Regions from separate parts of the Homo sapiens genome. Here all the other regions are linked to region 7. Evidence: promoter capture Hi-C in 16 types of primary human blood cells and fetal thymus (Javierre and others, 2016). All regions are on one chromosome and are shown on one strand. Each heading gives the region's core, a stretch centred on a gene start or on the middle of the fragment in contact. The rest is flanking DNA. Distances are from core to core; before and after follow the strand shown. Region 1 overlaps MANSC1 (MANSC domain containing 1). Region 2 overlaps DUSP16 (dual specificity phosphatase 16). Region 3 overlaps BORCS5 (BLOC-1 related complex subunit 5). Region 4 overlaps EMP1 (epithelial membrane protein 1). Region 5 holds the start of GSG1 (germ cell associated 1). Region 6 overlaps BORCS5 (BLOC-1 related complex subunit 5). Region 7 holds the start of DDX47 (DEAD-box helicase 47).

What was found. Contacts are between HindIII fragments. The CHiCAGO score rates a contact against its expected background, and 5 or more counts as called.
Region 1: a fragment that was not itself captured here is called in contact with the fragment with the promoter of DDX47 in region 7 in 2 of 17 cell types (non-activated CD4 T cells and total CD8 T cells); the score reaches 6.1 in non-activated CD4 T cells.
Region 2: a contact is called between a fragment that was not itself captured here and the fragment with the promoter of DDX47 in region 7, in 1 of 17 cell types (naive CD8 T cells). The highest score is 5.5, in naive CD8 T cells.
Region 3: a fragment that was not itself captured here is called in contact with the fragment with the promoter of DDX47 in region 7 in 2 of 17 cell types (naive CD8 T cells and fetal thymus); the score reaches 6.4 in naive CD8 T cells.
Region 4: a contact is called between a fragment that was not itself captured here and the fragment with the promoter of DDX47 in region 7, in 2 of 17 cell types (naive B cells and M1 macrophages). The highest score is 5.8, in naive B cells.
Region 5: a contact is called between the fragment with the promoter of GSG1 here and the fragment with the promoter of DDX47 in region 7, in 1 of 17 cell types (naive B cells). The highest score is 5.2, in naive B cells.
Region 6: a fragment that was not itself captured here is called in contact with the fragment with the promoter of DDX47 in region 7 in 10 of 17 cell types (naive CD8 T cells, total CD8 T cells, non-activated CD4 T cells and 7 more); the score reaches 15.2 in naive CD8 T cells.

What each region holds. Positions count from the first base shown.
Region 1 is chr12:12,324,730-12,328,173 of GRCh38, reverse strand. It overlaps MANSC1 (MANSC domain containing 1), which reads left to right. Exons shown (of 4, transcript NM_018050.4): 4 at 1-2,118. Among named protein-coding and RNA genes, the nearest start is that of MANSC1, 24 kb to the left of the region's middle. RefSeq lists an enhancer at 2,367-2,867. The HindIII fragment of the contact is 2,222 bases long and covers 442-2,663 here.
Region 2 is chr12:12,474,159-12,477,293 of GRCh38, reverse strand. It overlaps DUSP16 (dual specificity phosphatase 16), which reads left to right. Exons shown (of 7, transcript NM_030640.3): 7 at 1-3,135. The coding sequence ends at 461. Among named protein-coding and RNA genes, the nearest start is that of DUSP16, 87 kb to the left of the region's middle. The HindIII fragment of the contact is 4,519 bases long and covers 1-3,135 here.
Region 3 is chr12:12,439,919-12,443,428 of GRCh38, reverse strand. All of the region lies in intron 3 of BORCS5 (BLOC-1 related complex subunit 5), which reads right to left. Among named protein-coding and RNA genes, the nearest start is that of BORCS5, 85 kb to the right of the region's middle. RefSeq lists enhancers at 3,480-3,510, 3,054-3,510. The HindIII fragment of the contact is 2,138 bases long and covers 1,056-3,193 here.
Region 4 is chr12:13,206,317-13,209,427 of GRCh38, reverse strand. The region is part of intron 1 of EMP1 (epithelial membrane protein 1); the gene reads right to left. Among named protein-coding and RNA genes, the nearest start is that of EMP1, 11 kb to the right of the region's middle. The HindIII fragment of the contact is 5,765 bases long and covers 1-3,111 here.
Region 5 is chr12:13,102,257-13,105,824 of GRCh38, reverse strand. GSG1 (germ cell associated 1) reads left to right here and starts at 2,158. Exons shown (of 7, transcript NM_001080555.4): 1 at 2,158-2,360. The coding sequence starts at 2,313. LOC105369666 (a long non-coding RNA gene) reads right to left here. Exons shown (of 2, transcript XR_931369.3): 2 at 3,379-3,568. The HindIII fragment of the contact is 5,406 bases long and covers 1-3,100 here.
Region 6 is chr12:12,370,893-12,374,175 of GRCh38, reverse strand. All of the region lies in intron 2 of BORCS5 (BLOC-1 related complex subunit 5), which reads right to left. Among named protein-coding and RNA genes, the nearest start is that of BORCS5, 15 kb to the right of the region's middle. The HindIII fragment of the contact is 9,315 bases long and covers 1-3,283 here.
Region 7 is chr12:12,811,251-12,814,686 of GRCh38, reverse strand. DDX47 (DEAD-box helicase 47) reads right to left here and starts at 1,341. Exons shown (of 12, transcript NM_016355.4): 1 at 1,233-1,341; 2 at 463-556. The coding sequence starts at 1,319. RefSeq lists an enhancer at 1,205-1,514. The HindIII fragment of the contact is 15,992 bases long and covers 534-3,436 here.

The DNA.
Region 1 (3,444 bases), core at 303-2,802, 490 kb after region 7:
AGTTATAGGTGAGGTAACAAAGAGTCCAGAAGTCCCCTGGGTCAGTTTGATACCTCTTTCCTCTGGACTTCAATTTGCTTATCTGCAAAACAGGAAATTTGATCCCTTCCAAGTGTCACCAGAGTTTTTAAAGATAAAAATGGAATTCAGATGCGAACTTAATACAGTGAGCACTAGAGGGCAGTAGCTGGTTAATAAGTACAGCAATTAAGACAAATGCAGGAAATGACAGAAAAGGCTTTTCTTCTCCTTCCTCCTCACCTCTTCCTTCCTCCTCACCTCCTTCCCCTCTGCTCTTCTGGTACCCCTCCCCCATTTCCCTGGTTTACACTAAGTTCATAAAGTACATTAAGAGGAAAGCTGGTCTATTGAAAATACTACTTTTCTTATATTTTCCAACTTAACAGCTTGACACAAATCTCCAAGGGGTTTACATAAGCTTTAAGTAGGCTGAATAAATAAAACCTTGAGTCAATTTAACTTAACAAGTATTTATTGAATATCCACATGTAGGCCAGAATCAGATTAGTAACCAGGTGCCTTGGAATTTTAAAATTTCTCCTCTCTTTATTAATGGATTTAGCGAGTGGAAATCAGGCTTTCTGTGATGGTTTATAAAGGTATTTTCCTGGCTCTCTTGGAGTTCTCTGTCCACCTTGCTGCAGTCTTTGTTGTGATGGGGAGACCACATGGGAGCGGTCCAGATGAGTGATGCTACGGGCCCAAACTGTTAGTGGCCGTGAGGATATAGGTTGTAGGGGACATCTGGAGTGGAAAGAGTGCTCTTCTCACACAGCTCTCTCTACTTACTGCCCCTAGGATGGTGGGTGCAACTGTGGCAAGGGCAGTCAGGGTAGGGGAATCCCTTAGAGGAATTCAGCAGTGACTAGTCTGGTTAGCCTTTCCCACAAGGCCCATTGAGTTATGAGCCCCCTCCTTTGGTTTGTAGAAAGAGAAGGTAGCAGCCTAGAACAGGTGAGAAGATGAGGTAGGTCCTTCTGCTCAAACATCCTCTCTCCGTATTTTACCAACACGATACTGACCTAGGTTAAAAAGCTACTCTTGGCCAGGCGTGGTGGCTCACGCCTGTAATCCCAGCACTTTGGGAGTCCAAGGTGGGTGGATCACCTGAGGTCAGGAGTTCTAGACCAGCCTGGCCAACATGGTGAAACCCCATCTCTACAGAAATACAAAAATTAGCCAGGCATGGTGGCAGACACCTGTAATCCCAGCTACTTGGGAGGCTGAGGTAGGATAATTGCTTGAGGCCGGGAGGGGGCGGTTGCAGTGAGCCAAGATCGCTCCATTGCACTCCAGCCTAGGCGACAGAGCAAGACTCTATCTCAAAAAAATAAAATAAAATAAAATAAAAATAAGCTACTCTTAGCCAGGCACATAGTGGCTCACATCTGTAATCTCAGCCCTTTGGGAGACTGAGGTGGGAGGATCACTTGAGCCCAGGAGGTCGAGGCTGCAGTGAGCCATGATCACGCCACTGCACTCCAGCCTGGGCGACAGAACGAGAGCCCATCTCAAAAAAAAAAACAAAACAACAACAACAAAAAAAAAACTAAAAAACTCTTAAAAAACCTGAGGACTCCTGGATGAATACTGTTATGTGCCTGTTTCTCAATTACCCCTGGCCTGAGTGAGGAACTTTTGGAACTCTTTGGCTCCCAGACTGTGGTGGGCACTACCGGTCAGCTGCCCAGCAGCCAGCCCTAGTCCCACTTCTGCCTCATTTGTTACAGGTTGGAAGTGCCAGGTTCAGGGATGGGCCTGTGACCCAAGTTTTAGCTGAAAGGAAACCTACTAGGGACTTCTAGGAGAGATTTTCTTGCTTGTAAAGGGAAGGCTGCACAAGGAGAAAAGCCCTTTCTAACCACATCCCCTTATTTCATGCTTGGGATGCTGACCATGTGAAGACTTGGTTGTTGGAGCTGTGGTGGCCTCCCTGCCATGATGAGGGGAGAAGGCACTGCCACACTGAGCGTGGCAGTGGGTACAGGAAGAGTCCAGTCTCCGGGATGCCTTGGTTAATTGACAGGACAAACCCTGGAACTGCCAACTTCCATCTTGTTCTGTAATAATAAATCTCTAATATTTGTACCACTTTCAGTCGAGTATTCTATGATTTATTACTTATTGATAGCAAACACTTAGAAAGTACTTACACTATGGGCCGGGCACAGTGGCTCACGCCTGTAATCCCAGCACTTTGGGAGGCCGAGGCGGGTGGATCACCTGAGGTCAGGAGTTCGAAACCAGCCTGGCCAACATGACGAAACCCCATCTCTACTAAAAATACAAAAATTAGCTGGGCGTGGCGGGGGCAGAGTTTGTAGTGAGCCAAGATTGCACCCCTGCACTCCAGCCTGAGCGACAGAGCAAGACTCCACAAAAGAAAGTACTTACACTATGCGCCAGATTCACTTTTACATATACTAACTCATTTCAATTCCACAACAACCTTTTGAATAATTTTAATCCTTATTCTGTAGATAAGGAAACTGAGACACAGCGAAGTTTAAGGGCCTTTCCAGAGGTCACTTGCCCAGATAGCCTGGCTCCGGAGTTGCCACTTTTTACATTCTTATAACTGGAATGATACACGGTGTAACCAAAAAGAGGTTTGCACTAGATTGGAAATGTTCTAGAAAGCTTTTTGTTGTTGTTTTTGTTGTTGTTGTTTGAGACAATTTTGCTTTGTCACCCAGGCTGGAGTGTAGTGGCGCAAACACAGCTTACTGCAGCCTCCAACTCTCGGGCTCAAGTAATCCTCCTGCCTCAGCCCCCCAAGTAGCTGGGACTACAGGCATGTGCCACCACGCCCAGCTAATTTTTGTATTTTTGTAGATACAGGGTTTTGCCATGTTGGCCAGGCTGGTCTCAAACCCCTGGACTCAAGCAATCTGCCCATTTCAGCCTTCTGAAGTGCTGGGATTACAGGCATGAGCCACCATGCCTGGCCCTAAATAGCTTTTATTTTTATTTATTTATTTAGAGACAGAGTTTTCTCTTGTCGCCCAGGCTGGAGTGCAATGGCATGATCTTGGCTCATTGCAACCTCTGCTCCTGGGTTCAAGCGATTCTCCTGCCTCAGCCTCCTGAGTAGCTGGGATTATGGGTGTGCACTACCATGGCCAGCTAATTTTGTATTTTTAGTAAAGGAGATGGGGTTTCACCATGTTGGCCAGGCTGGTCTTGAACTCCAGACCTCAGGTGATCTGCCCGCCTCAGCCTCCCAAAGTGTCGAGATTACAGGCATAAGCCTGCCCCTAGATAGCTTTTTATTTTGGTTTTTAGACGGCATCTTGCTCTGTCACCCAGGCTGGAGTGCAGTGGCACGATCTCAGCTCACTGCAACCTCTGCCTCCCGGGTTCAAGCAATTCTCCTGCCTCAGACTCCCAAGTAGCTGGGATTACAGGCACCCACCACCACAC
Region 2 (3,135 bases), core at 107-2,606, 340 kb after region 7:
ACCACACCAGCTTCCTTTTCGGCCTTTCCACCAGCCAGCAGCACCTCACGAAGTCTGCTGGCCTGGGCCTTAAGGGCTGGCACTCGGATATCTTGGCCCCCCAGACCTCTACCCCTTCCCTGACCAGCAGCTGGTATTTTGCCACAGAGTCCTCACACTTCTACTCTGCCTCAGCCATCTACGGAGGCAGTGCCAGTTACTCTGCCTACAGCTGCAGCCAGCTGCCCACTTGCGGAGACCAAGTCTATTCTGTGCGCAGGCGGCAGAAGCCAAGTGACAGAGCTGACTCGCGGCGGAGCTGGCATGAAGAGAGCCCCTTTGAAAAGCAGTTTAAACGCAGAAGCTGCCAAATGGAATTTGGAGAGAGCATCATGTCAGAGAACAGGTCACGGGAAGAGCTGGGGAAAGTGGGCAGTCAGTCTAGCTTTTCGGGCAGCATGGAAATCATTGAGGTCTCCTGAGAAGAAAGACACTTGTGACTTCTATAGACAATTTTTTTTTCTTGTTCACAAAAAAATTCCCTGTAAATCTGAAATATATATATGTACATACATATATATTTTTGGAAAATGGAGCTATGGTGTAAAAGCAACAGGTGGATCAACCCAGTTGTTACTCTCTTAACATCTGCATTTGAGAGATCAGCTAATACTTCTCTCAACAAAAATGGAAGGGCAGATGCTAGAATCCCCCCTAGACGGAGGAAAACCATTTTATTCAGTGAATTACACATCCTCTTGTTCTTAAAAAAGCAAGTGTCTTTGGTGTTGGAGGACAAAATCCCCTACCATTTTCACGTTGTGCTACTAAGAGATCTCAAATATTAGTCTTTGTCCGGACCCTTCCATAGTACACCTTAGCGCTGAGACTGAGCCAGCTTGGGGGTCAGGTAGGTAGACCCTGTTAGGGACAGAGCCTAGTGGTAAATCCAAGAGAAATGATCCTATCCAAAGCTGATTCACAAACCCACGCTCACCTGACAGCCGAGGGACACGAGCATCACTCTGCTGGACGGACCATTAGGGGCCTTGCCAAGGTCTACCTTAGAGCAAACCCAGTACCTCAGACAGGAAAGTCGGGGCTTTGACCACTACCATATCTGGTAGCCCATTTTCTAGGCATTGTGAATAGGTAGGTAGCTAGTCACACTTTTCAGACCAATTCAAACTGTCTATGCACAAAATTCCCGTGGGCCTAGATGGAGATAATTTTTTTTTCTTCTCAGCTTTATGAAGAGAAGGGAAACTGTCTAGGATTCAGCTGAACCACCAGGAACCTGGCAACATCACGATTTAAGCTAAGGTTGGGAGGCTAACGAGTCTACCTCCCTCTTTGTAAATCAAAGAATTGTTTAAAATGGGATTGTCAATCCTTTAAATAAAGATGAACTTGGTTTCAAGCCAAATGTGAATTTATTTGGGTTGGTAGCAGAGCAGCAGCACCTTCAAATTCTCAGCCAAAGCAGATGTTTTTGCCCTTTCTGCTTCACTGCATGGATACAGTTGGTAAAATGTAATAATATGGCAGAATTTTATAGGAAACTTCCTAGGGAGGTAAATTATGGGAAGATTAAGAAAGGTACAAATTGCTGAGGAGAAGCAGGAAACCTGTTTCCTTAGTGGCTTTTATCCCCTCGGCATGCGATGGGGCTGATGTTTCTATGATTGCCTCAGACTTTCACATTTACTAGTAGGGCTGAGAGAGGCTTTAGTGAGGAAGGAATATTCAGAATAAAACGGTTGAGAAAGCTGAGAAGACCATTGAGTTTTGATCAGTTGTGAATAGAGTGCAAAGCCATGGCCAAGCTGTTTTTGGAAACGCTGGCCGGCGTGTCTTCAGTGGAAAAAGCAAATCAAAATGGAGCGAGAGCAAAGGGGCGTCCTCAGTCCTCAACCTACAATCACTGTATGGAATCGGTCCTGGCAGCTGAACATAGGAGGTCACTGGAACAAGTGATAGTGCAGATTGGCTTTCAAACATCCTCCTGGCTTGAGTTTTATCAGCTACAATGTGGGTCCTCTTTTGAAGCCTTAATTCACAACAGCAGCTTTTTGGGGGTGGGGCTGGGCGGGTGTTGTCATTGTTCTTTCCCTTCCTGTAAGTGTCGCTAGTTGCTGCCTCGTATCTCAGGTTTTTCTCTGTTTTTGAGAAATGGACAGTTTTTTGACCAGGATGTGACTTCATGTTTCCTATGGTGACTTCTAAAACCAGCACAGAATGATATGACTCAACACAGACCGACTTGGTTATGGGGATGATGAGCCGCACAGACCTCACTAGTTGTGCACAAATAATGTGCTATGATGGGGTGTAAAGTGAAGGCAGAAGAGGGTCAGCCGCATTGTTATGATACTGGGAAAGTGCTGGTCAACGATTTGAGTTAGTTTTTAGATATACATTGAAATCTTTAATCAGACATTCTCAAGTTTCACACAGTAGTTTTTGATGTTATGTACACACACACCAAATGTGTAACAGTTCACCACTTCCAGAGTGTGGTCATGCCCAAAACATGTTTAAGAAAGGAAAGCAGTAGCTCCTTGCTAACGATGTTTCAGGAGGTTTGGGGGACTTGGTTTTAATGAGCTTCTGTCATTTAGGGCTTCTCTTGGCCATGGTCCCCCTTCCTTCTGGAACTGTGATGTAGTCACATCCTACAGCCTTTAGTGCTGGTTCACTAGTGTCAGATAATCAGTTCTTGGAATCGAGACTGCCGTGGCGAAGGGGTGGCCTCGGAGGCAGGCTCTGGAGCTGCTTGGATGTCTTTAGGTGGGGTGGTGGCTGGCTCTCTTCAGCATGTAATTGGGGAAACCCTCGCGTCTACTAGGGGTGATACAGATGGTGATTTTAAAGAGCAAAACTAGACTTCTATGTGAGAAGTGCTGGAAAATGATTTAGGACATGTGTAAAGTTAGATGGAAAGACTGTAAATGTTTAATATGAATATAGTGTTCTTTTGAAGTAAGGCCAGCTGTTGAACGGTTAAACTGTGCATTTCTCATTTTGATGTGTCATGTATGTTAATGTATGAAATGATTAAATAAAATCAAAACTGGTACCTGTTTATACATAAATACGAGAAAAGACCTATCTTTGCAGCCATAAACTCGGTGGGAACACCACCACTCAAGTTGC
Region 3 (3,510 bases), core at 875-3,374, 370 kb after region 7:
CCAAAGGACAAGAAGGGGGGAAACTATAATTACACTGTAAGGTTTCAACCTGGAATTGATGCCAGAGTAACTTGTGACATTCTATGGGAACATAAAATTTTCTTGAAATGTCTTGCCTCAGGATTTCAGCAAAAAGAAGCCGACATCTCAATGTTCTTGTCAAAATTTGCAGCTTTGCAATAGGTACTCCCAACTCATTTTATAATTTCAGGTCAAGAAAGAAGCAACTGAAGCCAAAATATATTTAAAAGCGGCCACAGGACTCTAACAATGTTGTCATTTAAAGGAGATTCGGTTCACAGTGTCAGGGCGATAGCAACAGTTTCACCTGGCCAACAGCTCACGCTAACCAGGCTTTTAACCAAAGGAGCTCAAAGTGAATGCTAATGCCAGTTCAGACAGTGATGCTCTGTGCAACACTCGGAACTACTCATTTAATCTGGATCAGTCTCTCTCCCTGGGAGGACACACAGTACAGGAAGTCAGGTCAAATACTTGGAAAATGACTCCAGCTGGGTCTTAAACATTACGGTACCGATGACAGAAAGAAATCCCTGCCCAGCCCTGTGTGCAGGCCCATGAATGGCAACTCTCGTGCATTCCTTCAAACACCAGTTGAGGACCTACCATGTAAAAAAAGGAATAACCAAAAATGAAATGAAGGACTCCAAAGAGGCAGAACATAAGTAGTATGGTGCAGTGGAAAAGATGACTCACCTTCTAATACCATCTTAGTCATTATCTAATGGAAAGATACCCAGCAAATCCCATATACACTCGAAGATCCTTGGTTTCTTTATTTGCACAATGAAAGGGCTAAATTAGAGAAACCTTAGGGCCTCTTCATAATCCTGTGTAATCATATGGCTTTCCAAGGATTGCAAGTTTTTCTTACCAGTTCATCTGAACCCCCTCCATGCTTCATACTGGTTTATGTCAATACACTATGCTTATCAACACATCTAAGAATTAAAACAGGAGTTACTAGAATCATATCATGAATGTACTCTCAAGGCCTTCAAGCAAGCACACAGGAACTGTAACAAAATAAAGCTTGTGGCTTTATCTTAGTTACAAAGGCGTTCTAATCTATGACACATTTACCCACTGACAGCAACTAGAATGAGGCAGAAATAAGACCCAGGGCAGTGACAAGAGAAGCTCCAAAAGTCTGTGCTGCAACTTGTTCTAATCTATGAACACATTTACCCACTGACAGCAACTAGAATGAGGCAGAAGTAAGACCCAGGGAAGTGACAAGAGAAGCTCCAAAAGTCTGTGCTGCATCTTCCTGGGGCTGCGTATTTGCCACCAGCCTCATCCCTCGCCCCCAGGGAAACCACACCTGGGGAGGAAGCACACTCCTTTCTGGTTGGCTTTTCAGTTACCCCACATTTCAATGATAGATGTAACCTAAAACTAAGTGTCTGTCAACTTGAATCCTTAACTAGAAATGAGGCAATATACAGGAAATCCCCCAAATCAGAGGCAGCCATGTATCCACAGCCTAGAAGCCAAGGACTAATGGTTTGCCACCATCCAGCTTCACATTTCTCAAGACCCATGTTCCCCAGGCACGAGTATGCTATCCACAAAGCAGAATAAACAGTTAAATTCACTACAGAAATTCCAAAAACTACATATTCATGGCATGAAAGAAATCCTGCAGGGTTTGAAGGAAACCACAGTGGGCTTAAAAAAAAAAAAATTTTTTTTTTGCCTTGCCTCTATTTAGTGCTTATACTTGGGTTGTTAAGAGCAGAACTTAAAATGGGGCAATATTTAGACAGCTGCTGGTATCAAGTAATTTCAAATGGGCCAATTCATGGCAATTAGGATAGGCCTTTCTCCTTAGTCATCATTTATATTTAAAGCAATAACAAAGAGCTAACACTACAGTGTCTACTACATGGCAGGCGTGGTCCCTAGAACTGTACCAAGAATAACTCATTGAACCCTCACGAAAACCTGAGGTGGATGTCATTCTGTTCTCACTGAACAGAAAAGGAAACTGAGGCTCAGAAGAATTAAGGGACTTGCCTGAGGTCACACAGGTAGTCAGAGATGGAGCCAGGATTGAACCTTGGCAGTGTGGCTCTGGAGTTTACGCTCAGAACCATTCTGCCAAATTGTCTGCAAATACAAAGAGCAAATACAAGTTGCCCTGCCTCAGCTGAGCCCTCAATGCCTAATGGCACTCATTACTGTACCCAGTCACCATGACCACTCAACAAATGACCTCCCTCTTCTCCACAGAGGATACAAGCTGCTGGGTGTGACCGATCTGTGCCAGGGACCCTCCTGTCATAAACTTGCCTGCGTCCTCCCTGTTCTCTCAGAACAGATGTCCCACAAGGCTCCAACTCTTGCCTCCTCAGGGATCTTGCTCTAAGAATCCCCCTTTCTCCTTCATCTTTGATCTTGTCTCATCTGCCTCTTCCCCCTCATCCTGTAAACATGTTCAAGTGCACCACCTGCATAACAAAAAATCCCCTTTGATCTTCATCCACTTTTAACTTAATTTTGGCCACTACCTCACTGTGTGACCTGGGCGAAGTGCTTACTTTCTGTAAAAGCCTTTAATTTCTGCATCTGAATAATGAGAGCACTGGACCAGAGGGTCTCTAAGGTCCTTCCAATTCCAACATTCTGTGGTTCTTAATGCAGAGATTTCTCTGAGCAAGCTCACTGAAACTCAGGCCAGTTTCTTCAGTGTCCCTGAAGCCCCAAAGTTAATTTTCTTCTAAGACTGTCAAGCTGTTCCCCTGCAGCAATGCCCCCCTCTTCCTCTCATTTCCCAAATCCTGGTTTTTTTTTTTTTTTCAAAGACCTAGCTTAAACCCCGTCTGCTCCAGGATATCCCAATCTTTAACTCTTACAGAACTTTAGTTATAAATAACAAATGAGCATTCCCCTTCAACAGTGCCTTTTTCATATTTCTGTTCTGTATATCTTCATTCCCTCAGCGAGGCTAAACTCTCAAAGAGCAAGGACCATGTTACATGTCTCTGGAACCCCCAAAGGACCTCCCCACTAGGTGGGTCTGCAATAGCTGCTCAACAGTGCTGGCTGAGGGGTCAGCCTATCGCCATTAAAGAAACTAGTAGTTAAGGTATGTCACTAGACTCCCTGATTGCAAAGTAAATTACCTCCGTTCTTCTCCCTCACATACACAAATCTATAAACATAAGCTTTTCATTCAAGAGCATCATCCAAATTTAACATAAGGAAAGCTGAGCTAACTCTCTGATTTTCCTTTATCTGAATCAGAAATAGTTATAGCCATGTTTCCCTTTGATCCAGACTTAAGTGATCACAGGTACTGTAATCTTAGGGACCTCTAGTTGATCCCGGTTATATACTTCCACTAACACATATTCTCCATGGTTATTAAGTTCCCTCACTTGTCAACACATAGCATTATGTTACTTCCTCATCTTTCCAACCAAATTTCCAGGAAACATCTGGAATAATATCAGAGAGTTGGTGTTTGATCAAAATGACATCCTC
Region 4 (3,111 bases), core at 546-3,045, 390 kb before region 7:
GGTGTATACAATCCTTTCGGTCCTCTTAGAAATTGTCATTTGTCTAACCCTTGCCCCTTAAGGGGGGAGACCTCTAAGAGCACACCCTCAGGAAAGACCAGGAGAAAGTTCACTTTCTCAGCCCAACTTCCTCATACCTCCCAAGATTCACACCTCACCAGATCCTGATCTCCTTGCCCCCTATGGGGAAAGGAACAGGCTGATTGCAGGGAATTACAAATATTACATAACGAATACTTATGTTTAATCCTCCTCGGGCTCTTCAAATGACTTTCTTGTTCCTGTTGCTTCTAATTTACAAACATCCTCTTCTTAAAAGGGGGAAGGGCTGGAGGGGCCAATGACAGAATATAATCCACCAAGTGAGGCCACTTAAATGAGTCACAGAAAACATTCCCTCCCTGATAGGCTGTTGGGAATTCAGCAGCATTTTGTCTCCTTGGGTTGCTCTGTAACCCCTAAAGTCAAGTCTGATTTCCTCTGCCCAGCTCACACTCTCTGTCTCAATGACCCCTCCCACGGCACCTCTACCTGGGCCCATGCATCACAGCCCTGGTGGTGTGTGCGAGTGCCTGGCCCCTGGATCCACCTGACCATATGCCCTGCCCATTGCAGGCTGGAAGAATGGATGTGAGAATCAAGCAAAAGAGCGACTCTCTTTCATCTTAGATTTTTGTGATGGTGCCCTCCCTGTCTTTTCACCACGGAAAGAAGCAAAATGTCTTGAGTTAGCAAGCGGTCTTGTGCAAAACACACAGTTCTCTCTGTTTTTAGCTGCTGTATCCAGCCAGAAGGAGGGGCTGTTTAGCTTAAGCTACAACTTCTCCATCTTTTCACTGGCCCATTATTTGTCAGGTTTTACTAATATCATTCACTGTCAGTTTAGAGGGGCTTCCATTATTTTCAATGGCCTTCCCCCCAACACAGGTGAAAACAGAATGAGTTATCTTCTTGAGTTTCTGGGCTGAATCATCCCTAGTTACCCAGTCTTTACACTGTGCTAGATACCTCCTGCCCCCAGGGAAACCCTCAGTCTGGGAGGAGGCGATCACTGAGGTCTTTATGAAAAAGCCATTAGTGGTAACTAATGGGTAAATGTCTGGGCATTTATCAAATAGCAGAGTATAATAAACAGAAGAACCCCTGCTCCTGAAACTTCCACCCACCCATTACTTGCAAGGTAGCTTGTGGGGAGATTCATTCTCTGCCCCATTGTGAATCTTGCTTCATACAAAGGCACTGAAAAAAATACCATTTATGAGAATTTATACCATTGGAAGTATTGGTGGCTACTACTTATTTCTTAGCAGTGTGTTTCACTAAAACAATAGTAGACTTCTCCCTCAGCCCTCTCTAAAATGATATGGGTGGCACTCTCCAGTGGAAAGCATACCCCTAGTCCTAGTGAGGCAGCGCAAACCAAGATGCAGAGAATCACAGCATTGCAATTCTGAATACTTTGAAGCAAGACCCGCTTTTTGCAGAGCATTTGGTGCACTGAGCAGTTCCAAAGTTGTAGGGGAACGCTCATAACAGCGTTCATTTGTGGTGCTTAGACTCCCAGACCTAGGCCAGCAGAGCTTATCAATTCATTGCATTTTTAAAGAACAGGCCGTCCACTGACTTCTATGTGGATGCCAGGAACACATTTCTGTACCCACCACTGTGAGTGGAGGATGATCTCCTTCTTAAGCCTCATCTACCTAACATACATGGCACAGGGGCAGTTAGGGGCTGGGTGGGAAACTGAGGAAGGTATAGGACCCATGTATGTTGACTCTGGAGAGAAGTATTATTAAGAGAAATGGAGATCAGCACCTCGGAGCCACACACAGGTCTCTGATATCCCTTTTCTGTTCTTCTTTCTGCCCTAACGGACAGGCTTGCAGTTCCCTACCTCTGACCACCATCTTTTGTTTCTGATCACTGTTCCTCCTTTTCTTTCTGCATTGCCCAGACCACACTAGAGCAGAGGTGTCTTTGTGCTCCTAGCTCTAATGCAAACCTCACAAACACTGACCATTCAGTATTCAGATAAAGTTCTTAGCTAACAGAATAGCTAATATAGTCAGTAGAAATAACCCTGAGGGAGTTCGAGATCATCCTGGCTAACGTGGTGAAACCTAGTATCAATTAAAAATACAAGAAATTAGCCGGGCGTGGTGGTGCACACCTGTAGTCCCAGCTACTGGGGAGGCTGAGGCAGGAGAATCACTTGAACCAGGGAGGCGGAGGTTGCAAAAAGCCAAGATCGCTCCATTGCACTCCAGCCTGGGCAACAGAGCAAGACTCCGTCTCAAAATAAAATAAAATAGAACCCTGAGGATTAAAATTGCTCGTGACTATAGCTCTAAAGGACTAACTAATATGAGACATGAGGGAAGGGAAAGAGGGATAACCAAACCTCTCAAGTTATCTCCATCCATTTAAATCTTTATTGGCTTCTTGCCTCCCTCTTACACACCACACACACACACACACACACACACACACACACACAAATGAAAGAATCAAAGGAACACAGCCCTGAGACTGCCATGCATTGCCTTGTTGCCTTTGTTCAGGCAGCCTAACACTTTTAGGGTTCTCTGACCAGTGAGAAATTACTCAGGCCCCCATGGGAGCCTTTCCTTTTCTGGTGGGTAACTAAATCTGCAGAGACTTTGAGAAGAATTGACTTCTAAGGACCAGAAGGGAAGTTTAGAGGTGCATAATTTGGTTCCCTGATTGCTAACCTAGGAGTCAGATAACTTCTTCCTGTCCAGAAGTCTGTGTGTTCACTGAACTGCCATGGGGCCTGGCGGCAGCAGCAATTCTTTAAGAGTGACCTAAAACACAATAACTGGGAGCAACACAATAGAATAGAGCAACCAAAAACCCACTTCCCCAGTGAAGGAAGTGGTCAAAATCCTGGGGCTTGAGTCACTGAAGAATTAGCCCTAGCTGAGGGGTGGGAGGGGAGCATGCTCAGAAATCAGGAGCTGAAGACGATGCAAACACTGGGGGAGGCCCTCAGGGCTCAAATTTCCATGATTCATTTGAGAGTGGGTGAGATTCTCCCAGAATGAAAGGCATCATGGAGACCTTCTCTACAAAAGGGCACGAGAGAGC
Region 5 (3,568 bases), core at 909-3,408, 290 kb before region 7:
CTCTCTCTCTCTTTTTTTTTTTTTTTTCTTTTTTTGAGGCAGTCTTGCGCTGTCACCCAGCATCGCCCAGGCTGGAGTTCAGTGGCAGGATCATGGCTCACTGCAGCCTCAACTTCCCGGGCTCAAGCAATCCTCCCACCTCGGTCTCCCAAGTAGCTGGGACTACAAGCGCTCACAACCTCGCCCAGCTAATTTTTGTACTTTTCGTAGCAATAAGGTTTCACTGTGTTGCCCAGGCTGGTCTTGAACTCCTGGGCTCAAGTTATCCTCCTGCCTCGGCCTCCTGACGTGCTGGGATTAAGCATCCGGCCATAATCTCATTTTTAAAATTCAGATCTCTAGTCCATCTAGAGTTTATTCTTGTATATGATTTTTAAATAAATATAATTTATATTTTTCTAAATGGCTATCTAGTTTATCCCAACAACATTTCTTAAAAAAATCATCTGTGCCCCAGTGATTACAGATATCACCTTTGTCCTATACTGGAAGTCTATACATAGCTGTGTTTATCTCTAGACTTTCTGTTCTCTTCCATTGGCCTGTTTGTCTAGTCATGCACCAGTACCACATTGTTTTTTTTTGGTTTTTTTGTTTTTTTTAATATACTTTAAGTTCTAGCGTACATGTGCACAACGTGCGGGTTTGTTACATATGTATACATGTGCCATGTTGTTTTAATCATAGAGGCTTTGTAGTATGCTTTATATCAATTAGGGCTAGCACCACCTCAGAGCTCTTCCTTTTCAGGGTTTTCCTAGCTAGTCTTGTGTATTTTTTTCCCATATAAACTTTAATATCAACTTGTGTTGGTCTTTTAAAATACTCATGGTTATTTGTATTAAATTTATAAATTAACTTATAACGGACATCTTGATCAATTTAAGATGTGCCAAAAATAAGGCATGTTGTTCCATTGGGGAAGTTATTGGCACTTCGAGATCCGATGTTCTCTCTTAGATACTTCCTTAGGTAGTTTAGGTCATTAAATAAAATAATAAATATTTCTTGAGCAGCTACTATGCCCTTGGCACTATATTAAGCACGATAGAAGTAAAAAACCAGATTCTGTCCTCAAGCAGCTTAGAATTTCACGAGAGAAACAGACTAACACACCAAAAGCAAAGCAGGCATGCTGTATGAGCAAAGAGGAAATGGGGAGTAAGGAGGGCTAGAGCCACAAGGTAGTGAGACTGGAATCATGTGCCCTGAGGTTGTGTAAGATTTAGGCAGGGCAGCAAGGAGAAGGAAGGGATCCCAGTGAGGGGAACCCTGGCAAAAGCTCAGAGGAGGACTGAGTGTGACAGGTTTCACAGGGCAGAGGGCCCCATCCAGACTGTTAGCTGGAATCCTGGATGAGGCCCTCTTCCAGTCTCCGAGAGTTATGCCTCCATATTAACAGTCCCCAAACACTAATTATGTATTCATTAAAATGATGTTAGTGAATGTTTGCTGGGTTTCCAGATACTAGCCCTTTAGAATGGTAATTTCTGTACATTGTTACCTTTTCAGGGAATGGCCTTGAGTTGTGCCATCCAATACAGTAGCTACTTGCCATGTGTGGCTGTGGAGCCCTTATGATATGGATAGTGCAACTGAGCAACTGAATTTCTAATTTTATGTAATTTGAATTCACTAAATTTTAATTTTAAAATGAAAGTAGTATAAAATATTTTTCATTAAACCCAACTTTATTGTGTGGGGAGGGCTACATTTTAAACATAGTATTGTATAACATATGATTGCTGTATCACAGTATGTGTGTCCAATTTACTTTTTTTAATGTGGCTACCAGAAAATTTTAAATGACATATGCTGCCCACATTGCATTTTGCTTTGACAGCACTGGTCTAGAGTCTCACAACTCAGTGTGGTCTGGCTGGACTCACGTGAGAGCCATCCCAGACTCTGCACTTGACTAAGTCAGGATCTGCACTTGACTAAGTTCCCCAGGTGAATCTTATGCACAATAAGATAAGCACTGATCTGGACGACCTCAGAAGACATCCAGCCACTGGTAGGTACCCAGCATGACCCCCCCCAATCCTTATGGGAGGAGGCTGAGGGAGCAACAGGGAGACCCCTGACTGCCGTTGTGACATCACAGAATAAACCCCACGGGTCACCCAACCCCGCCCTGGCTGGTGTCTGGCCCTCAGGACATCCTCTCCAATCCACCACACACCACCTTACCCCTCTGCTGGCAAGAGGGGACCTGATTCATCCTCACGCTAAACACTCATTCTACCCAACTGATTGAGACAGAACAGAAGATAAACTGAAACTTCTCTGCCTTCCCGCTGCAAGAGTGAATGAGCGATCCCTCTCAACTGACTCAAAATGTTTGCCTCACCCAGGAGGTAGGTACAGTGATTTTGAAATCTCATGAACATCTCATACACATATCTTTACTGCTGGATTTGTAACACAGGTTACACTAACTCATCAATTTCATGTATTTCACATGGTCACAGTAAAGAGCTTGGAAATGCACTATAGGGTTCTACAAAATGGAATGAAAATGTGTCACTCAGCCCAGTTTTCATAGATAAAACTGGTATGTCCATACCTTGGCCTATTACCTTTTCATCTTCCTTCATTAAAACTTCCATTTCTTCTTCCCTTGTCTCATCATCTTCCTTCTCCTTTCTGTTCCCAGGGCTCCCTATGCCTCTCCTTTTTTCCTTTCATCTGCATTATTCCCGTTGCCAAAATCTGGAGCCTGGTAAAGGCCCAGTAGCGGTGGCAACAATAGAGCTGTGTGTCACCCCAGTGAGCTGAAAGAGCAGACATCAAGCTCTATGCCAGAGAACAGTGGGGCATCCCCAAGGTCCTGCTGGAAGGCAGCTCTGATCTGGAACTGGGAAGGACAACACACAGTCAAGCTCTTTCTCGTCTCAGAGAATCCAGCAGAATCTTCAGGGATCCTTCCAGACCAGGAAGACTCTCACACTCTGCAGAGAAGTTGCGGCTTGTTTAGCATTTGACCTACATTCAGAAACGACCAGCCTCCCAACTTTCAGCTCTAAGGATTACTTAAAAAAACAAATGGTGTTCATTCTCAGATATCTTGCCTTTCTCAGGAGAGAAAAATGAAGCTTGCAATTAGCCAGCAAACTAGCACATACACAAACACACACACACGTACATACACTCCAACACAGGGAGCAATGTGGTATGTTGTTGACCAGCTGGAAGTTAGGATCTCAAAGGAAAGAACAGGATAACTTAAGAGGCACTTCTGGGACTGCAGAGCTGAGCTGGTGGTTCTGAAGAGCCATCGGAGTGTGGGTTCAGGCAGCTTCCCTAATTCAGAAGCAGCCCCAAGTGAATAGATGACAAAGAAGTGGATGTGAACATGACAGAAAAAGCCAGTCATGGCTTAGAATAAATTTTATTATTGTTCTTTATCAGTGGTTTTCCAGGAGAGACACAGAGGGAATATGGGAGCGTCTGGTTGCTAATATGTACCTGAGAAGTATAAAGTACACTTAATCCATTGCCTCAATCTGCAGGAGGTCCCATAAATCTGGCCTGCAATCTGTACATTTTGTTAAAGGTGACTGTG
Region 6 (3,283 bases), core at 741-3,240, 440 kb after region 7:
ACTAAAAATACAAAAAAAAAATTAGCCAGACGTGGTGGCGGGCACCTGTAGTCCCAGCTACTCGGGAGGCTAAGGCAGGAGAATGGCGTGAACCCGGGAGGCAGAGCTTGCAGTGAGCCGAGATTGCACCACTGCACTCAAGCCTGGGCGACAGAGCGAGACTCCGTCTCAAAAAAAAAAAAAAAAAAAAAAAAGAATACTCTCTGCAACCCTGCCTTCTCTATGTAGCTACCTGCTATTCATCCCTCAAAGCTCAGCTGAATTCTACTTCCTCTAGGAAGCCTGCCCCAAATTCCCAGGCCAAATTAATAATTATCTCCTCCATGTTTATCTACTCTTTGGGACATGTGGCCAGTGTTACTAATATGATATTATTGTGAATACTTACCTGTCTAAATCGCTCACAAAACAATAAGGTCCTAAAGGGCAGCAACTATGTCTTCTATTTTTTGTACCTGCACTGTCTGACCACATCAGGCACTTAGCAGGTGCTTATCAATATGTTGCAGAAATGAATGACCAATTAAAGGCTGTTGGCAGGAGGGTCTTATAAGTAAAATGGAAAAACTGGTATCGGACAGAAAAATATGGATTAAAAAGCATTTTTTTAAGGATTTCTGCCTCTGCACATGAAGGATTAACTGCTATTATGCAATAATAAACAACTAGAAAACCAGACAAAAATATATGAAACACTCATTTCCGATACTGTATAACAGGCAGCACAGGACTTTGATCCCTGAAAGAAGGAAAACAAGCCCTACCATTTTCCCAGCTTATTACCTAAAGGCAGTTTCCAAGAGGCAGACCAGGGAGGTGTCTTGGTCGGTACAGGCTGCTACAACAAGAATACCATAAACTGGATGGCTTAAACAACATACATTTATTTCTCACAGTTCTGGAGGCTGGGAAGTACAAGATTTAGGTGCTAGCACATTGGATATTTGGTGAGGGCACTCTTCCTGGTTTGCAAATGGCTGTCTTCTCCTTGTGTCCTCACATGGCTAAGAACAGAAGGAAGAAGGAACCTCTCTCCCCTCTCTTCTTGTAAGGGCGTGACTCCCATGACATGAGGGCTCCACCCTCATGATCAAATCACTTCCCAAGGCCCCATCTCCTAATACAGCATATTGGGGATTACAATTTCAACCTGTGAATTGGGGGGAGACATAATCATTCAGTCCATAGCAGAATGGACATCAAAAAAAGCCCAGCAGCCTCACTGAGTTAGAGAGAGAGCAAAGTTTGCAGAAACTAAAGTGGGTAGGATTTACACAACAGAATATGGGAGAGAAGGGGGCAGCCTTGAGATCTGCACAGGGTACCCTTAAATCTCTGAAAACATCATCTGTAAATTTGTAAGGTGAAATTCCAGAGACTGGAGAAAACTAGAGAGAAGCAGTAGGCCAAATATTTTCTGAAGAGCTCATGTTCCCATTAGCCACAGTGGAGAGACTTCATAATACATAAGGCAACAGGTAGAGTACTCAGAAGGATTTCACCTTAGTAGTGAGATGAAATTAAACTAGGCAAAGACTGCACTAGATGAGCCCCAACGGTATTTAAAAGAAAACATGGGAAGGGTCCAAATGACTACAAGTAACTTAACCATATGTATATGCCAGAATAAAGTCTGGTATCCTTAAAGGAATAAAATGAAATCCAGGCCAGGTGTGGTGGTGCATGCCTGTAATCCCAACAATTTGGTGGACTGAAGCAGGCGGTTTGCTTGAGCCCAGGGGGGTTGAGGCTGCAGTGAGCCACGGTGGTGCCACTGCACTCTAGCCTGGGCAACAGAGCGAGATCCTGTCTCTAAAAGGAAAAAAAAAATTAGTAAGTAAATTTTAAAAGAAATGCACTCTACTCCCAGCACTTTAGGAAGCCGAGGCAGGTGGATCACCTGAGGTCAGGAGTTCAAGACCAGCCTGGCCAACATGGCGAAACCCCGTCTCTACTAAAAGTACAGAAATTAGCTGGGCATGGTGGCGGGTGGCTGAAATCCCAGCTACTCAGGAGACTAAGGCATGAGAATTGCTTGAACCCTAGAGGCAGAGGTTGCAGTGAGCTGACATCGTGCCATTGCACTCCAGCCTGGGCGACAAGGGCGAAACTCCCTCTTAAAAATAAAATTAAAATAAAATTGAAGTACTCATACGTTCAAAAAGTAGAGGAAAACATAAGCATGATAAGCAGAGAGATCAAAGACATTTAAGGGGGAGAATCTAAAGCTGAAAAATACCAGCATCTGAAATTAAGAACACCTTGGATGAGATTAAAAGCAGTACAGACATGACAGAAAAAAAGACCACTGAACATGGAAACACAGCAGTAAAAATTATCCAAAGTAAGGACAGAAAGGAAAAGACTAAAAATAAAAATTGAAAGGTGTGTCAGTGATGTGTAAGAAAATATCAAGCGGTCTAACATCGAATTGGCGTCCCACAAAAAGCAGGTGGGGGGAGCAGAAAAATATTGGAAGACATAATGACCAAAGTTTTCGATTAAAAGTACAAACCTGCAGATCAAAGAACATAGAGAACATATTAGTGTGAACTTGTCATTTTCAATATATAGAAAATATAGGCCAGGCATGGTGGCTCATGCCTGCAATCCCAGCACTTTGGGAGGCTGAGGCAGGTGGATCGCTTGTGCCCAGGAGTTTGAGACTAGCCTAGGCAACATTGGGAAACCCCATCTCTACAAAAAATACAAAAAGATTAGTTGGGCGTGGTGGCACGCAGAGTAGTCCCAGCTGCTCAGGAGGCTGAGGTAGGAGGATTCCTTGAGCCCAGGAGGTCAAAGCTGCAGTGAGCCGTGATTGTGCCACTGCACTCCAGCCAGGGTGAAAGGGCAAGATCGTGTTGCCAAATACACGAACATATAAAAAATAAACATAGGTGTAAATGTGTGGGTGTGTATCTATGGATTCCCTAGCTAAATCTTCTGAGAAGGTCCAGAAATGGATTCTAAATAAGACCCTTCACTAAAAGAACCAGGGTTCCTTTAAGAAATACCCGATTCTAGAGCTGGAGACATGGAAGAACAAAATAAGTCTGGAACATTATATTGTGCCAGAAAATAAAGACATTTTCAAAGTATAAGGGGAATATGTTAAAAGGACACAGTAGGCCAGGCGCAGTGGCTCACGCCTGTAATCCCAGCACTTTGGGAGGCCGAGGTGGGCGGATCACAAGGTCAGGAGATCGAGACCACCCTGGCTAACACAGTGAAATCCCGTCTCTGCTAAAAATACAGAAAAATTAGCTGGGCATGATGGTGGGCG
Region 7 (3,436 bases), core at 92-2,591:
TCTTAAAAAAAAGATCTCAAAAAGAAAAAAGTTCATCCCATTAGTTTCAGTTCCAGTAGCCATCAATCTGCTTTAACCACTGTTTTACAAATCTGATAAACATGGCTCACAGCAAGAATTCTCAACTCCTCAAGACACACATATGTGTTCCAGGCATCCTTCCCTAAGTGTGCGCCCACTGATGCATAAAGTCTACCAAGATTGTCGTTAATATACTTTAACTTTAACCTAGGGCTTCCTTAAAGTCAGCATCTGTGGCAGAGAACAAACCCTTTCAGCTATTAAGACAGAAAGTAAGCTCAGTAAAATTGGAGAATGACATTTTCAAATACCATTACCCAAACTTTGTACCTTTAGTGACCATATCCTTATTTCACTTGAAGTATGCAAGCAACAGCTTTCAAAAGGGGTATCTAATTGAGATAACTTTATATTAAATCTGTACGAAGTCATACAACCTACCTTGTAAGGCCAAAGGAATAGCTTCAATCTGGATCTTGGTGGGTTTTGTCCATCCCAACTGGTCACAAGCTTCACACAACACATCTGTCACACCCTTGGAATTCAGAAAAATATACCTTAGCCAAGAACAGCACACCCCTACCTCCCTCCTACTTAACTGACTGTCAGACCCATCATGTACAACCATTGTATTTGATTTAAAAGGTATTTACTGTGCATCTCAGAGCCTACTCTTTAACTATACCATGAGACAGTAGCTCAAGACTTAACGAACACTTTCTGCTCACCAAGGCCAAGGCCAGGTGCTTTACATGTATCATCTCATTTAATCGTCACAACAATTCTGCGAGGTAAGTACTTATTACTATCCCCAATTTACAGATGTGGAAAGAGAAACACAGAGAGGTAACAACTTGTCCTCAGTAAGAGACTGTGTCAAAATTCAAATCTGGTTGGTTCATCTGACTCCAAAGCTCCAGTTATAAAGAGACCAATTCCATTCCCCATATGTACAACCTCCTGGATGCACATACAAACGTTGCCACACTAAAGTGGCGAATAGGGCAAATAGGGGGTCTCAGGGCCCAGCAGCCCTCCCACCACCCAAACTCAGAGCACGTCCGAAACCCAGCCCTCTGAAATTCTGGGGAAAACCCAAGCTAGGCCCCAAGATGCTTTTGTACACTATCAGAGCGGGATCTAAGGTACCTGGGGTCTCCCTGAGCCTAGCACCAGAGTACATAAAAGAAGCCAGCGTCATCCATTCTCACCAGGTCTTTAAATGTTTTAGTTTCCTCCTCTTCCACAATCGGCTGGGACGCTTCGGTCGGAGAATCGTGTTCCTCGGGTGCCGCCATCTTGTGTGAGGTCTCCGGAAGTGGGTCTGCGGCGCGCGGGATGCTGGGAAATGTAGTTTTAGTTCTCCCCGGACGACGTGCTCTGCGCGCCCCCTGCGGGCTTGCCGGGGATTGCACCCGTCCGCTAGGCAGGTGGGGCCCAGTGAATATGGGCGCGTAGGCTTGCGGAATAGATCCGAGTGCAGAAGGGGCTGATCACCAGGGACTCCAGTTGACCTTTAGGTCCCTTTTAAAGAGCCTTCCCTACGTGTGTCGCCAGTTATGTTCCCCGCTTTTCTAACCATAGAGTTTGGAACGGATTGATATTACAATACTATTTTTTTATTATGTCATTACTTTATTCAATAATGTTGAGAACCTACCATTTGCTAAGGCTATGCTAGATGGCTGGTGAATAGGACAGCGACCCCTGCCCTCGTGAAGAAAAAGAAGACAGATCATAAATAAGCTATCACAGAGCATTTCAAATTGTGAAAAGTAGCTGGGTGTGCTCACGCCTGTAACCCCAGCACTGTGGGAGGACGAGGCGGGCGGATCACTTGAGCCCAGGAGTTCGAGACCAGCCTGGGCAACGTGGCGAAACCCTGTGTCTGCAAAATGCAAAAATCAGTCAGGCATGCATGGTGGCATGCGCCTGTAATCCCAGCTATTCAGGGGGCTGAGGTTGAGGGATCAGTTGACCCCGGAAGTTGAGGCTGCAGTGAGTGGAGATGGTGCTACTGTACTCCAGCCTGGGCAACAGAGTGAAACCCTGTTCACATAAAAATTACAGAGTAACCTGGGGAGGGTGGGTTGTGGGGATAACTGTGAGATTGGGAAGGCCTCTCTGAGACAGTGATATTTGAGTTAAGACCTCACTGTTGAGCAGGAGAAAACGCTTTAAGATCCCAGGAGATAATCATTCCAGAGTGAGAGAATTCCAAGTACCAAGACTGTGAAGCTACTAAGGCTATTCTGGAAAGCAGCAAATTCAGAGCTGTATGTTGCATGCCCCATGGCCAGCGAGTGCCCTCCTGTGGCCTGTCACTTGGGTCTCACACTGCGCAGGGTGCTCGTTGCAGTTTTATTCCTGAGGATGGGAAGTTGGGGGCAATCTGGTGTCCGTCACTGGGAAAATGCATAGTTAAAATGTGAACATGGTGTCTACAAACATGCCCTTAACAATATGATTAGATCTGAAAAACCTAGTGCTTAGTGAGAAAAGCATAAAATATATCAAGTATATTAAAATATAGGCCCACAGATATCACATTCTGCTAAAACACATCCAACAGAAGATACACTTGAAATATTTTAGAATGGTTGCCTGCAGAGGGAGAAGAATTAGAATAAAACTGGGAATTGGGAATAAAAGAATTAAGTGTATAAGACAATAGGCCGGCCGCGGTGGCTCACACCTGTATCTTAGCACTTTGGGAGGCCAAGGCAGATGGATCACTTGAAGTCAAGAGTTCGAGACCAGCCTGGTCAACATAGTGAAATCCAGTCTCTACTAAAAACACAAAAATTAGCCAGGCATGGTGGCCTGTGCCTGTAATCCCAGCTACTCGGGGGGCTGGGGCAGGAGAATTGCTTGAACCCCGGAGGCGGAGGTTGCAGTGAGCTGAGATCATGCCATTGCACTCCAGCCTGAGTGACAGCGCAAGACTCCGTCTCAAAAAAAAAAAAAAAAGGATAATAAATACACAAAGCAAGAGAGGAGACTTGTGATGCCAGTGTGCTTGACCTGAGAATTGTGAGGAACTCAACTCAATGTGCCTGCCGACCTCCCCACCACCACAACTAAAAAAGGGCCCTGATTTAGGCATCACAGCAGTGTCTCAACAACAAAAAGGGTAGGATGTGGTCAGAGAATTGGGCTCAGCTCAGACTCTGCAGGACCCTGTTGTAAAAGGTCTGGGGTTTTGGATGTTATCCTAAATGCAGAAGGAAGCCACTGGGGGTTTAGAGCAGGGAAGAGACATGATCTACACATTTAAAATATTACTCTAACTCTATATGGAGATAGGCTGTAGAAAGAGTGAGAAAAGGAGACCATCTAAGACAGCGGTCCCCAACCTTTTTGGCACTAAGGACTGGTTTCGTGGAAGACATTTTTTGCACAGAATTGGGGCGGG